Linked DNA regions of Homo sapiens: region 2 is linked to region 1. The links are contacts of gene promoters, found by promoter capture Hi-C in human tissues and cell types (Jung and others, 2019). All regions are on one chromosome and are shown on one strand. Each heading gives the region's core, a stretch centred on a gene start or on the middle of the fragment in contact. The rest is flanking DNA. Distances are from core to core; before and after follow the strand shown.

Region 1 (5,758 bases), core at 788-3,287:
TAGTAGAGACAGGGTTTCACCATGTTGGCCAGGATGGTCTTGATCTCCTGACCTCATGATCCGCCCGCCTTGGCTTCTTAAAGTGCTGGGATTACAGGCGTAAGCCACTACGCCCGGCCTAAGAAAATTTTTTTGTAGAGGTGGGGTCTTGTTATGTTGCCCAGGCTGGTCTCAAACCTCTAACCTTGAGCGAACCTCCCACCTCGGCCTCCCATCCCATCACACCTGGGATCCCATGAGACATAAGAGGAAACGGAGTAAAAGGGGTTGGAGAACTCTATGGCACCTTTGCAACTTTTCTGGAAATCTAAACCAGTTCCAAAATAAAACGTTTATTTTAAAAGAAAAAATGTGAATGAAGAATAAGGCCATCCAGGATGAGTGACCCGTGTGCCCGGGACTGGAACCAAAGCACAGACGACCCGTCTCAAAGCCACTCCGGCACCACGGTCACAGCCGCCCCAAAAAGGCCCCCCAGCCCTCACCACCCCTCGCTCTCCCGCCCGCAGAAACGGGGATTGGCCTTAGGCTTGATGGGGATGGGTGTCCCCCAACCCCAGTCAGAGGCGGGTGGCCCAACAGCAGCGAGGCTGAGAATCCGCTTTCAAACCCACTTTATTCTTTTCAGACCAGAAACATTCCTCATTGCACCCCCCTCCCTGCCCTAGATCTTTACTGACCAGGGGCCTCAGGAGGGGCTGAGGAGACAGTGGTATACTCTGCCTCCAGGGACGTGGTGCTGCAGTGGCAGTGGGGACTGGCGCGGCCCAGCAGCTCCAGCCTCCGGGAGCGTAGCTGGACTTGAATGGCCCAGATGGGGGGCCGGTGGCCCGGTAGGGAGGGGTCCTCGTCCCTGAAGCTGTAGGTGGTGGAGTCAAAGCTGTCTTCTGTGGCGGCCACCGACTGTTTGCACACGGGGCAGGAGCGCCGGGGGGCTTGGGAGAACCAGGGGTCAATGCATTTGCAGTGGTAGGTGTGGGAGCAGGGCAGGATCTTGAGTTGGTCGCCCTCCTCATACTCATCCAGGCAGATGGCACACAGGTCGTTGTGCCACGTGAAGGTGCGGACCTGGGCCTTCTGGCAGGTAGACGTCTTCACCGGCCGTCTGTGGCTGCAGCAGGCCTGGGCCCAGAGCCACAGGTGGTTCAGGACAAAGAAGGCTGATACGACCAGGGCCAGGGTACAGCCCAGCACCCAGGACACGGTCAGCACGGGGTGACAGCCCAGGTCGTGGCACGGTGGGTCGTCGGGCAGGAGCAGCGCGTGGGCCGACTTGTTGCAGCCCAGGATGACCCGCAGGTCCTGCGAGGCGGCCTCGCTCACGAACACTGAGGGGATGGCGATCTGGCCCCTCAAGTCCTCGTAGACGTGGGTCATGCTCACGAGGTCGTCGGAGTGGACGTTGTGCACGATGGCCGCCTCGAAGCCGGCGCGCTGGGCGTTCAGCACCTTGAGGTCGAAGGTGCAGTCGTAGCGGCGGATCAGCACGATGGCGCCCAGAGAGCGGTTGCCCAGTCGCGGGGCCTCGATGGGATGGCACGCGTTGGCTGGCTTGACCTCCATCAGGTAGCCCCGTATGCCCTCGGGGGCCAGGGGGACGCCGAACAGCGCCGGCAGATCCGCAAAGTCCACCGAGCTCGAGTTGTCTTCCAGCACGGCCCGTACCACTGCCTGCGCGGGCACCTGGAGCAGCGACAAGACCAGCAAGGCTTTGACTGCCACGAGGGCTCGGCCCGGCCGTGGCCACCCCATGGTCACCCGCTTCGCTGTCTGTGTGCTGCTAGGTCCCACTGGAGGCGGCAGGCATGAGGCCTTTGGGCATCTCCGGGGTCTCCCAGGGGGCCTGTGGCCAGGACGCGAGGGCAGTTGAGTTGGAATGACCGCGTGGCTCAGAGGCAGTGACGCGGCCACTGGGACCCTGCTGGCTCTAGGCATTAAGTGCTCCGGACGGCAGAGCGGCATGCGTCGTGTCTTTGAAGGCCGGTCTCAGGAGGTGCTGGCGCAGGTGGCCTTTCTGGCAGATGACATGGAGACCAGGAGTCACCAGGGTTCTAGATGCCCCCAGCTTCTGTGACATCGCCCTGCTACATTCTGTCCCAGGAGCTGCCAGCTGCCTGGGCCTGTGGCCAATGGATCATTCCTAGGTCTGTGATTTGCCGGTACCCGGGCAAGCTTTGAGATAACTTCTTGAAGGCTCAGGGTATCTTTGGACCCAAGGAGGCCCAGGGATGCTTCAAAAGGGCTGCCGGCCCCCAGCAGTGCAGATTCAGCCCTCACTGTGCGAAGACGCTACCAGCATCAGCTTCTGGAGGTTCCTAGCAACACACTGTAGAAGGTTCAATGTTACCCTTGTCTGAGACTCCAAGAGTGACCCAGACTTGTTCAAGCCACGCCCCCCTACAATGAGATCAGTGCTTAAAACCCAAATTCCTGACCCCCTGTCACCATCCCTCACTCTGCTCCAGCCACACAGATCTCCTTGCTGTTCCTCCAACACACCAGGCAGGATCCTGCCCCAGGGCCTTTGCATGGGCTGGGCCTCCTGCCTGGAAAGCCCTTTCTCTCCGTAGCTGGCTCTTTTATCCGGACTCAGGTCTGAGTCCATATATCCTCAGAGCCCTCCTGGACTTGATTTGGAGGGAGAGTCAAGTGCCAGGGTCAGGGTGGGGCTGGTGGGGGTCAGTGGTCCCAAGTCCGCACCGCCAGGTTGGCCTCCAGGCTTGCACCAGCTTCATTCTCTCTCCCTATAGCATTGCCTCTCCAGCTGGGTCTCCAACTGTGCCCCCTGCCTGAGCTTCAGCCCTGGGCATCAGCCTCACCTCCTCCCCAGTCCCCATCCCCCAAATTTCACACCCTCAATCTGTCTGCAGCCCACTCAAGTCGGATTTCTGTCTCTGCCATTCATAAGCTGTATGACATCAGCTAAATTCCTTAGCCTCTCTGGGCCTCAGCTTCCAGACCTGTAACATAGTCTTTCCCATGCTCTAAACTCTCCCATGGCTCCCCATTGCCCTCCAGATAAAGCCCACACTCTTCTCTGTGGCCTACATGCACCCCTGTGGTTGGGCGCCTGCCAATCTCTGAAGCCTGGATGATTTGCAATGTCCCAGAGGCATCTTGCTTTGTTCACCTCTAGAATTTTGCAAATGCTGTTCCCTCTGCCTGGAACAGAATTCTTGCTCCTCAACTTCACTTTGCCAGGCTGACTACTTAGTCTTTAGATTTTCTGTGTTGGCCTAATACCTCTCAGAGCAGCCCTCAGCCAGTGACAGATGGGAGGTGGTAGATAAATGCCCCCACTCCCTCGTCCCTCTTATGGGACAAATCGAAGTATGTTCTACCATATCTCCTAGAGGTCCCCAGTCGAATGAGCTCCATAAGTCAACGAACCCAGTACTGTCTTGTCAATGAGCCCGCTACTGTCTCCTTCCCTTCCCCACCCACTTCTCTCCCCTCCCACAGCTTCTGAGATCACCTCCCACACAAATCTCTTGTACCATGTAGTGGGTGGGCCCCAAATAGAGATGTTGAACCCCTAACCCCTGGTTCTGACCAACCCCTGTGAATGGACCTTATTTGGAAATAAGATCTTTGCAGAGGTTTTCCTTCTAAGAAAGGGAGAAAAGGCCGGGCATGGTGGCTCATGTCCGTAATCCTAGCACTTTAGGAGCCCGAGGCGGGCAGATCAGTTGAGGCCACGAGCACATGCTGCCATGCCCGGCTAATTTTTGTATCTTAATAGAAACGGGGGTTTTGCTAGGTTGCCCAGGCTTGTCTCGAACTCCTGACCTCAAGTGATCTGCCAGTCTCAGCCTCCCAAAGTGCTGGGGTTACATTTGTGAGCCACCATGCCCGGCCCCTGGTGGCACTCCTGCCCCTGCTCTGTCTACTGCCACAGACGGAGGCCACACTATCTAGAGGCCACTGCCTTGGCCACTGTGGATGGCCCTTGCAGCCCAGTGCTACCAAGCAGAGGCAGGTTTTTCAGTCCAGCAGGCATGAGAGGAGGCAAGAGTGGAAAAACAGAAGCAGAGAGGGACAAATGTAGCGGTCAGGCTCGGGTTGGCTGTGGTAAGCAAGACCCAACCACAGCGGTGTAGGCGTACAGGGCTGATTTGCTTCTGAATGTGGAATGTGAGTAGTCATTCCTGGGATGGCATGGAGATGCTGGGGTGTCTGCAGCCCAGACTCCTTCCATCCACCATATCCTCAGTAAATGGCCTCCTCCTCGTGGGACAAGGCAGGTGCGTGAGCTCCAGCCATCACATCTGCCTCCCAGGCAATGAGGAGGAAAGAGTGAGGAAGAGCTCACCCTGTCCCTTTAAGGACACTTCTTGGAAATCCCAGGCACCACTTCTGCTCACACTGCATTGGCCAGAATTAGTCACGTGGCCATGCCTGGCAGAAAGCTTGCTGGGAAATGTAGTATTTATTCTGAATGGCCAACTGTGCAGCTGAAAACCAGGGCTTCTATTACTATGGAGGACAAGACAACAGATGTTGGAGGCGTCCAACACCACCTGTCACTCGGACACACTTGAGTAACCTGGCCTTCAATGGCTGCCCAATACATATTTGTTGAATGAATGAATCCCCACACCTCCAGCTTAGGCCTCCTTCAGTGGTGAGTGAGCTCACTGTCCCTGGGGATGGAAATGAGCTTTTCCCGGGCCCTTCTGTGCACCAGACTCCAGGCCATGTGGCTTCACTCCACCATTCAGCCACTGTGAGCCTCAGTTGCCCCTTCTGTAAAGAGGAGGCAGCATCAGCACCTGCACTGCGGGGTTCGCTGAGCATGGACGGTGCTAAGCATAGTGCCTACCACGTACGAAGTGCTCTGTTTGCATTTGTTGATGGCCTAAGTGACCTGCCCACAGCCCAGTTATAATATTGGGTGATCACAGCTACTCGGGAGGCTGAAGCGGGAACATCGCTTGAGCCTGGGAGTTTGAGGCTGCAGTGAGCTCTGATCATGCTGTGGCACTCCAGCAGCGGGCCACAGAGCAAGACCCCACCTCTAAAAATAAAATATTGAGTGATCAAACTGTGATGGGGAAAACTCAGGCACCGTGCCAACCCAAAGGGAGGCACCTGGCTTATTCTTTTTTTTTTTTTTTTTTTTGAGACGGAGTCTCGCTGTGTCGCCCAGGCTGGAGTGCAGTGGCACCATCTCAGCTCCCTGCAAGCTCTGCCTCCCAGGTTCACGGCATTCTCCTGCCTCAGCCTCCCGAGTAGCTGGGACTACAGGCGCCCACCACCATGCCCGGCTAATTTTTTGTATTTTTAGTAGAGACGGGGTTTCACTGCATTAGCCAGGATGGTCTCGATCTCCTGACCTCGTGATCCGCCCGCATCGGCCTCCCAAAGTGCTGGGATTACAGGCATGAGCCACCGCGCCCGGCCGCACCTGGCTTATTCTAGAGAATCTAGAAGGCTTCCTGGAGGTGGTGTCTTCTAGACTGAGATCAGAATGAGCAGTGGATAGTGCTATGAACAGGAAACGCGATCCTGGCAGCTAGAACAGCACGGGCAAACGCCCTGCCTGAGTAGCCTGGTCTGGCATCCAGTAGATGCTTAATAAGTGAACATAGAACTCCTTGCCATCACTCAGGGCCTGCCCCCTCTGAAAAAGGGTCTCAGCTTCATCCCAGCTTCCTCAGTCCCCCAACAGCCAGGCCTGGGCCCTTCTCCAGACGCCTCCACGAAAGCAGAGTGGTGCCAAGGACTGGCAGCTTAACGAGGCCGGCCTGTGCCAGCC
Region 2 (6,349 bases), core at 134-2,633, 99 kb before region 1:
AGCACTTTGGGAGGCTGAGGCGGGCAGATCACGAAGTCAAGAGATCGAGACTATTCTGGCCGACATGGTTAAACCCTGTCTCTACTAAAAATATAAAAATTAGCCAGGCGTGGTGGCAGGCGCCTGTAGTCCTAGCTACTTGGGAGGCTGAGGCAGAATTGCTTGAACCCGAGAGGCGGAGGTTGCAGTGAGCCAAGATCACGCCACCGCACTCCAGCCTGGCAACAGAGCGAGACTCCGTCTCAAAAACAAACAAACCAAAAAAAAAAAAAAAAAACAACACAGAGCCGACCACTGACCTTGCAGGGTGATGCACCTGGGGCAGAAGCAGCCTCACTACCACCCCTTGGAGCATCACGGAAACTTATCCATCTCTTTCCTTGGTGGCCCCTGGCTATCCACTGAAGGCTGCTGGCCTCACTATGAGGGCTCCAGGCCTGGCCCTGAGGTCCCCTGACTTGGCACTGACCTCACACTTGTGCTTTAAGCTTCAGACCTACTAAACCCCTTGCTGGGCTCCAGCCACAAGGTTTTTTTCACAGGCTATTTCTTTTCTTTTCTTTCTTTTTTTTCTTTTTTTGAGACAGAGTCTAGCTCTGTTGCCCAGGCTGGAGTGCAATGGCGCTATCTTAGCTCACTGCAACCTCCACCTCCTGGGTTCAAGCGAACCAGGAGGTGAGAATCCTGTCTCAGCCTCCTGAGTAGCTGGGACTACAGGCACACATCGCCATGCCCTGCTAATTTTTGTATTTTTAGTAGAGACGGGGTTTCACCATGTTGGCCAGGCTGGTCTTCAACTCCTGACCTCAGGTGATCCGCCCGCCTTGGCCTCCCAAAGTGCTGTGAGCCACCGCACCCAGCCTGCATGGGCTATTTCTGTATATGAAATACCCTCTCCCAACCTTTCACCTTTCACCCTGTGATTTGCAGGTTCAATGTCACTTCCTTGGGGAGGCCCCCAAAACAAGTTATGTTCCTGTTGTTTTGTATTCTCACAACATCTTGTTCTTTTCCTTTGTAGCATTAATTATTTATATTATTATTCATTCAATGTATGTTTTCCCCACTAGCCTGTGGGCACCATGAAGACGGGGAAGAGGTCTGGTTTGGTCACTGCTGCAGTACACAGCGTTTAATAACCCAGCGCCAGGGAGCGGTGGGGAGCCAGGAACACCTTTGCTCCCTTCCCAGGCTCAATGAGGCCCCCTCTCCACCATAGTTCCTGCCACCACTGGGCCTTGGTCCAGGTGACCAAGGGGCACGGAGGTTTGGGATTGGGATTCCAGGCACTCTGGCTCCTGCCGCCGTGATAAATGGGGAGAATTCAGAATTAATTATCGACTGCTCTGCTGAGCCGGCCTGATCTGGGCAGATAAAGAGCGTGGGCGCCACTGCATCTGCCCAGCGCTTCTCAGAAGTTTATTAGAGGATGGGAGGCAGTTGGCTGATGGGAGGAGTCTGGAATGCATTAGAGCCAGAGCTGCTGGGGGCAAGGCTGTGGCTCTGCTGGGCCACTTGGGGCAACACGCTCTTCCTCTCTGAGCCTTGGTTTTCTCATTTGGAAAAAGGGAAGTAAAAAAGAAAATCCTACCCCAGCAGTTTGGGATGCCAAGGTGGGCGGATCACCTGAGGTCATGAGCTCGAGACCAGCCTGGACAACATGGCGAAACCCTGTCTCTACTAAAAATACAAAAATTAGCTGGGTGTGATGGCGGATGCCTGTGATCCCAGGTACTTGGGAGGCTGAGGCACTAGAATCCCTTGAACCCGGGAGGCGGAAGTTGCTGTGAGCCGAGATTGCACCACTGACCTCTCTGAGCCTTGGTTTTCTCATTTGGAAAAAGGCAAGTAAAAAAAAAAAAAAACAGCCGGGCGCGGTGGCTCACGCCTGTAATCCCAGCACTTTGGGAGGCCAAGGCAGGCGGATCATGAGGTCAGGAGATTGAGACCATTATGGCTAACACGGTGAAACCCATCTCTACTAAAAATACAAAAAAATTAGCCGGGCGTGGCAGCGGGCGCCTGTAGTCCCAGCTACTCCGGAGGCTGAGGCAGGAGAATGGCGTGAACCCGGGAGGCGGAGCTTGCAGTGAGCCGAGATCGCGCCGCTGTACTCCAGCCTGGGCGACAGAGCGAGACTCCGTCTCAAACAAAAAAAAAAAAAGAAAAGAAAAATCCTTATATGTTGAGATAAGTTTTTTGGGGAATCACCAAGAGCAAAGAAAGCAAAGTACACAGTAGGTTTCATGCGTGTCCATGTGAAGAGACCACCAAACAGGCTTTGTGTGAGCAGCATGGCTGTTTATTTCACCTGGGTGCAGGCCGGCTGAGTCCGAAAAGAGAGTCAGCGAAGGGAGATAGGGGTGGGGCCGTTTTATAGGATTTGGGAAGGTAATGGAAAATTACAGTCAAAGGGGGTTGTTCTCTGGTGGGCAGGGGTGGATCTCACAAAGTACATTCTCAAGAGTGGGGAGAATTACAAAGAACCTTCTTAAGGGTGGGGGAGACTACAAAGTACATTGATCAGTTAGGGTGGGGCAGGAACAAATCACAATGGTGGAATATCACCAGTTAAGGCTGTTTTTACTTCTTTTGTGGATCTGCAGTTACTTCAGGCCATCTGGATGTATACGTGCAAGTCACAGGGGATGCGATGACCTGGCCTGGGCTCAGAGGCCTGACATTCCTGCCTTCTTATATTAATAAGACAAATAAAACAAAATAGTGTTGAAGTGTTGCAGCGGCGAAAATTTTTGGGGGGTGGTATGGAGAGAGAACGGGCGATGTTTCTCAGGGCTGCTTCGAGCGGGATTAGGGGCGGCGTGGGAACCTAGAGTGGGAGAGATTAAGCTGAAGGGAGGTCTTGTGGTAAGGGGTGATATTGTGGGGATGTTAGAAGAAACATTTGTCGTATAGAATGATTGGTGATGGCCTGGATACGGTTTTCAATGAACTGAGAAGCTAAACGGAAGATAGAAGGTCTGAAGAAAAGGAGGAGAAAAATGGGTATTAAAGGACTAAGAATTGGGAGGGCCCAGGACATCCAATTAGAGAGTGCCCAAGGGGGTTCAGCGTAATTACTTTCTTGGTTGGCAAGTTTTTGGGCTCTATCCTTGAGTTTTTTTATGTTGTCATACACCAGGCCAGATTGATTTAGGTAAAAACAACACTCCTCATTTAAGAATATGCAGAGTCCTCCTTTTTCAGCAGTAAGTCAGTCAAGGCCTCGGTGGTTTTGGAGGACAACTGCAGCTAAAGAGTCAACTTGGGCCTGGAGGACTGATAAAGTTTGTGATTTTGAGGGCCTCTAAAAGTATTAAAGCAGCAGCAGCCGCTGCACGCAGACATGAGGGCTAGGTTAAAACAGTAAGGTCAAGTTGTTTGGACAGAAAGGCTACAGGGTGTGGTCCTGGCTCTTGTGTAAGAATTCCGACCACGCTAACCATGCCTAGGAAGGAAAGGAGTTGTTGTTTTGTAGGTGCTGGGGTTTGAGAGGTCAGTCGGACACGATTGGCAGGGAAAGCACGTGTGTTTTTGAGAATTATGCCGAGATAGGTAACAGATGAGGAAGAAATTTGTGCTTGATTGAAGTAATGGGGGCTGTCTGTGAAGCTTTGCAGCAGTACAGCCTTGGTAATTTGCTGAGCCTAATGGGTGTCAGGGTCAGTCTAAGTGAAAGCAAAGAGAGGCTGGGACGAGGGGTGCAGGGGAACAGTGAAAAAAGCATCTTTAAGATGGAGAACAGAATAGTGAGTTGTGGAGGAACGGATTGAGGACAAAAGAGGGTACGGGTTGGGCACCACAGGGTGGATGGCAAAACAATTTGGTTGATAAGACGCAGATCCTGAACTAATCTGTAAGACTTATCCGGTTTTCGGACAGGTAAAATGGGGGAATTGTAAGGAGAGTTTATAGGTTTTAGAAGCCCATGCTATAGCAGGCGAGTGATAACAGGCTTTAATCCTTTTAAAGCATGCTGTGGGATGGGATATTGGCGTTGAGCGGGGTAAGGGTGATTAGGTTTTAATGGGATGGTAATGGGCATGTGATCAGTTGCCAGGGAAGGAGTAGAGATGTCCCATACTTGTGGCTTAAGGTGGGGGGATACGAGAGGAAGACGTGAAGGAAGCTTTGGGCTGGGGAGAAGGGCGGCAATGAGATGCGGCTGTAGTCCAGGAATAGTCAGGGAAGCAGATAATTTGGTTAAAGTATCTCGGCCTAATAAGGGAACTGGGCAGGTGGGGATAACTAAAAAAGAGTGCATAAAAGAGTGTTGTCTAAGTTGGCACCAGAGTGGGGGAGTTTTCAGGGGTTTTGAAGCCTGGCCGTCAATACCCACAACAGTTATGGAGGCAAGGGAAACAGGCCCTTGAAAAGAAGATAATGTGGAGTGGGTAGCCTCCGTATTGATTAAGAAGGGGACGGACTTACCTTCCACTGTGAGAGTTACCCGAAGCTCGGCGTCCGTGATGGTCTACGGGGCTTCCGAGGCGATCGGGCAGCGTCAGTCTTCAGCCGCTAAGCCGAGAAGATCTGGGAAGGAGTCAGTCAGAGAGCCTTGGGCCAGAGTTCCAGGGGCTCTGGGAGTGGCTGCCAGGTGAGTTGAACAGTCCGATTTTCAGTGGGGTCCCACACAGATGGGACGCGGCTTAGGAGGAATCCCGGGCAGCGGGCATTCCTTGGCCCAGTGGCCAGATTTCCGGCACGTGTAGCAAGCTCCTGGGGGAGGAGGTTCTGGAGGAACGCCTGGCCGCTGCGGTTCAGGCATTTGGAAGTTCTTGTGTGCTGGAGATGTGGCTGGGGTTTGTCTCACAGTGGAGGCAAGGAATTGCAACTTTTTTCTATTATTGTACACCTTGAAGGCGAGGTTCATTAAGTCCTGTTGTGGGGTTTGAGGGCCGGAATTTAATTTTTGGAGTTTTATTTAATGTCGGGAGCAGATTGGGTAATAAAATATATTTTGAGAATAAGACGGCCTTTTGACTTTTTAGGGTCTAGGGCTGTAAAGTGTCTCAGGGTTACTGCCAAACAAGTCATGAACTGGGCTGGGTTTTTATATTTGATGAAAAAGAGCCTAAACGCTTCTGATTTGGGATAAAGAAAAAGGAGCATTAACCTCGACTATGCCTTTGGCTCCAGCCACCTTTTTAAGAGTAAATTGCTGGGCAGGAGGGGGAGGGCTAGTCACGGAACGAAACTGTAAGCCGGACCAGGTGTGAGGAGGGGAGGCGATAAAAAAATGACAGGATGCAGGAGCAGAGGCTGAGGAAGAATTGGGACTTAGCTTGGGCTGGCGAGGAGGGGAGAGGTCAGATGGGTCTGTAGAAAAGGAAGATGAGAAAGACTCAGCGACGCTTGGGGTTGGGACTGAGGGGACAGGTGGGAGGGAAAGAAGGAAGATTTGGGACGAGTTGCACTGGGCACAGAGAGTAGGAAGGGACTGATGGACTTCAGGCACCTCAGACCATTTGCCCATTTTACGACAAGAATTATTTAGATCTTGTAGGATGGAAAAATTGAAAGTGCCGTTTTCCGGCTATTTGGAACTACTGTCGAGCTTGTATTGGAGTCAAGCGGCATTGCAGAAGAAAATAAGGCATTTAGGTTTTAGGTCAGGTGTGAGTTGAAGAGGTTTTAAGTTTTTGAGAACACAGGCTAAAGGAGAAGGAGGAGGAATGGAAGGTGGAAGCTTACCCATAGTGAAGGAGGCAAGCCCAGAAAAAAGAGTAGAGACACGGAGAAGGGGTGGGGGGTTCTCGCCCTCCAGAAAAGCAGAGAAGGGGTTGGGGCACGGAAGTAAGGGATTGGGGCACAAAGAGGTCAGGGTGTGGAAATAAGGGATTGGGGTGCAGAGATATAAGAGGTTGGGGTGCGGAAATAAGCGATTGGGGGTTTCTTGCCCCCTAGGAAAGCGGGACTTGCCACTGAGGGTGAAGGAGAAGGGGTTGAGGGGTACTTGCCCCTGCCCCAGGAAAGCGGGACTTGCCACTAAGGGTGAAGGACCAAGGCGGGCGTCCCTGCGTGGTCTGACACCCTTGAAACGTGAGTGTATAATCAGAGAGGCGTCCCTGCAATGATTAAACACCAAGGGAAGGCTGCCTTCCCAGTCCGTGACCGGCGCCGGAGTTTTGGGTTCACGGATAAAACATGTCTCTTTTGTCTCTACCAGAAAATGAAAGGAATTGAAATTAAGAGAAGGGAGAGATTGAAATGTGGCGCCAAGATTGAAAGGAGAAAGAGGTTGAGGGATAGTGAGGGAGGTTGGAGAAGAGAGTAAAAAGAGGCCGCTTACCGGATTTGAAATTGGTGGGATGTTTCCTGGGCTGGTTGGACTGAGGACCTGAGGTGG

What was found. Contacts are between HindIII fragments. The study calls those that stand out against the background at their distance.
Region 2: a contact is called between a fragment that was not itself captured here and the fragment with the promoter of ZNRF4 in region 1, in 2 of the 25 tissues and cell types used here (IMR-90 fibroblasts and mesendoderm cells).

What each region holds. Positions count from the first base shown.
Region 1 is chr19:5,451,696-5,457,453 of GRCh38, reverse strand. It overlaps ZNRF4 (zinc and ring finger 4), which reads right to left and starts at 2,037. Exons shown (of 1, transcript NM_181710.4): 1 at 598-2,037. The coding sequence starts at 1,962. The coding sequence ends at 673. The HindIII fragment of the contact is 14,927 bases long and covers 1-3,291 here.
Region 2 is chr19:5,549,106-5,555,454 of GRCh38, reverse strand. No RefSeq gene overlaps it. Among named protein-coding and RNA genes, the nearest start is that of TINCR, 16 kb to the left of the region's middle. The HindIII fragment of the contact is 4,976 bases long and covers 1-3,871 here.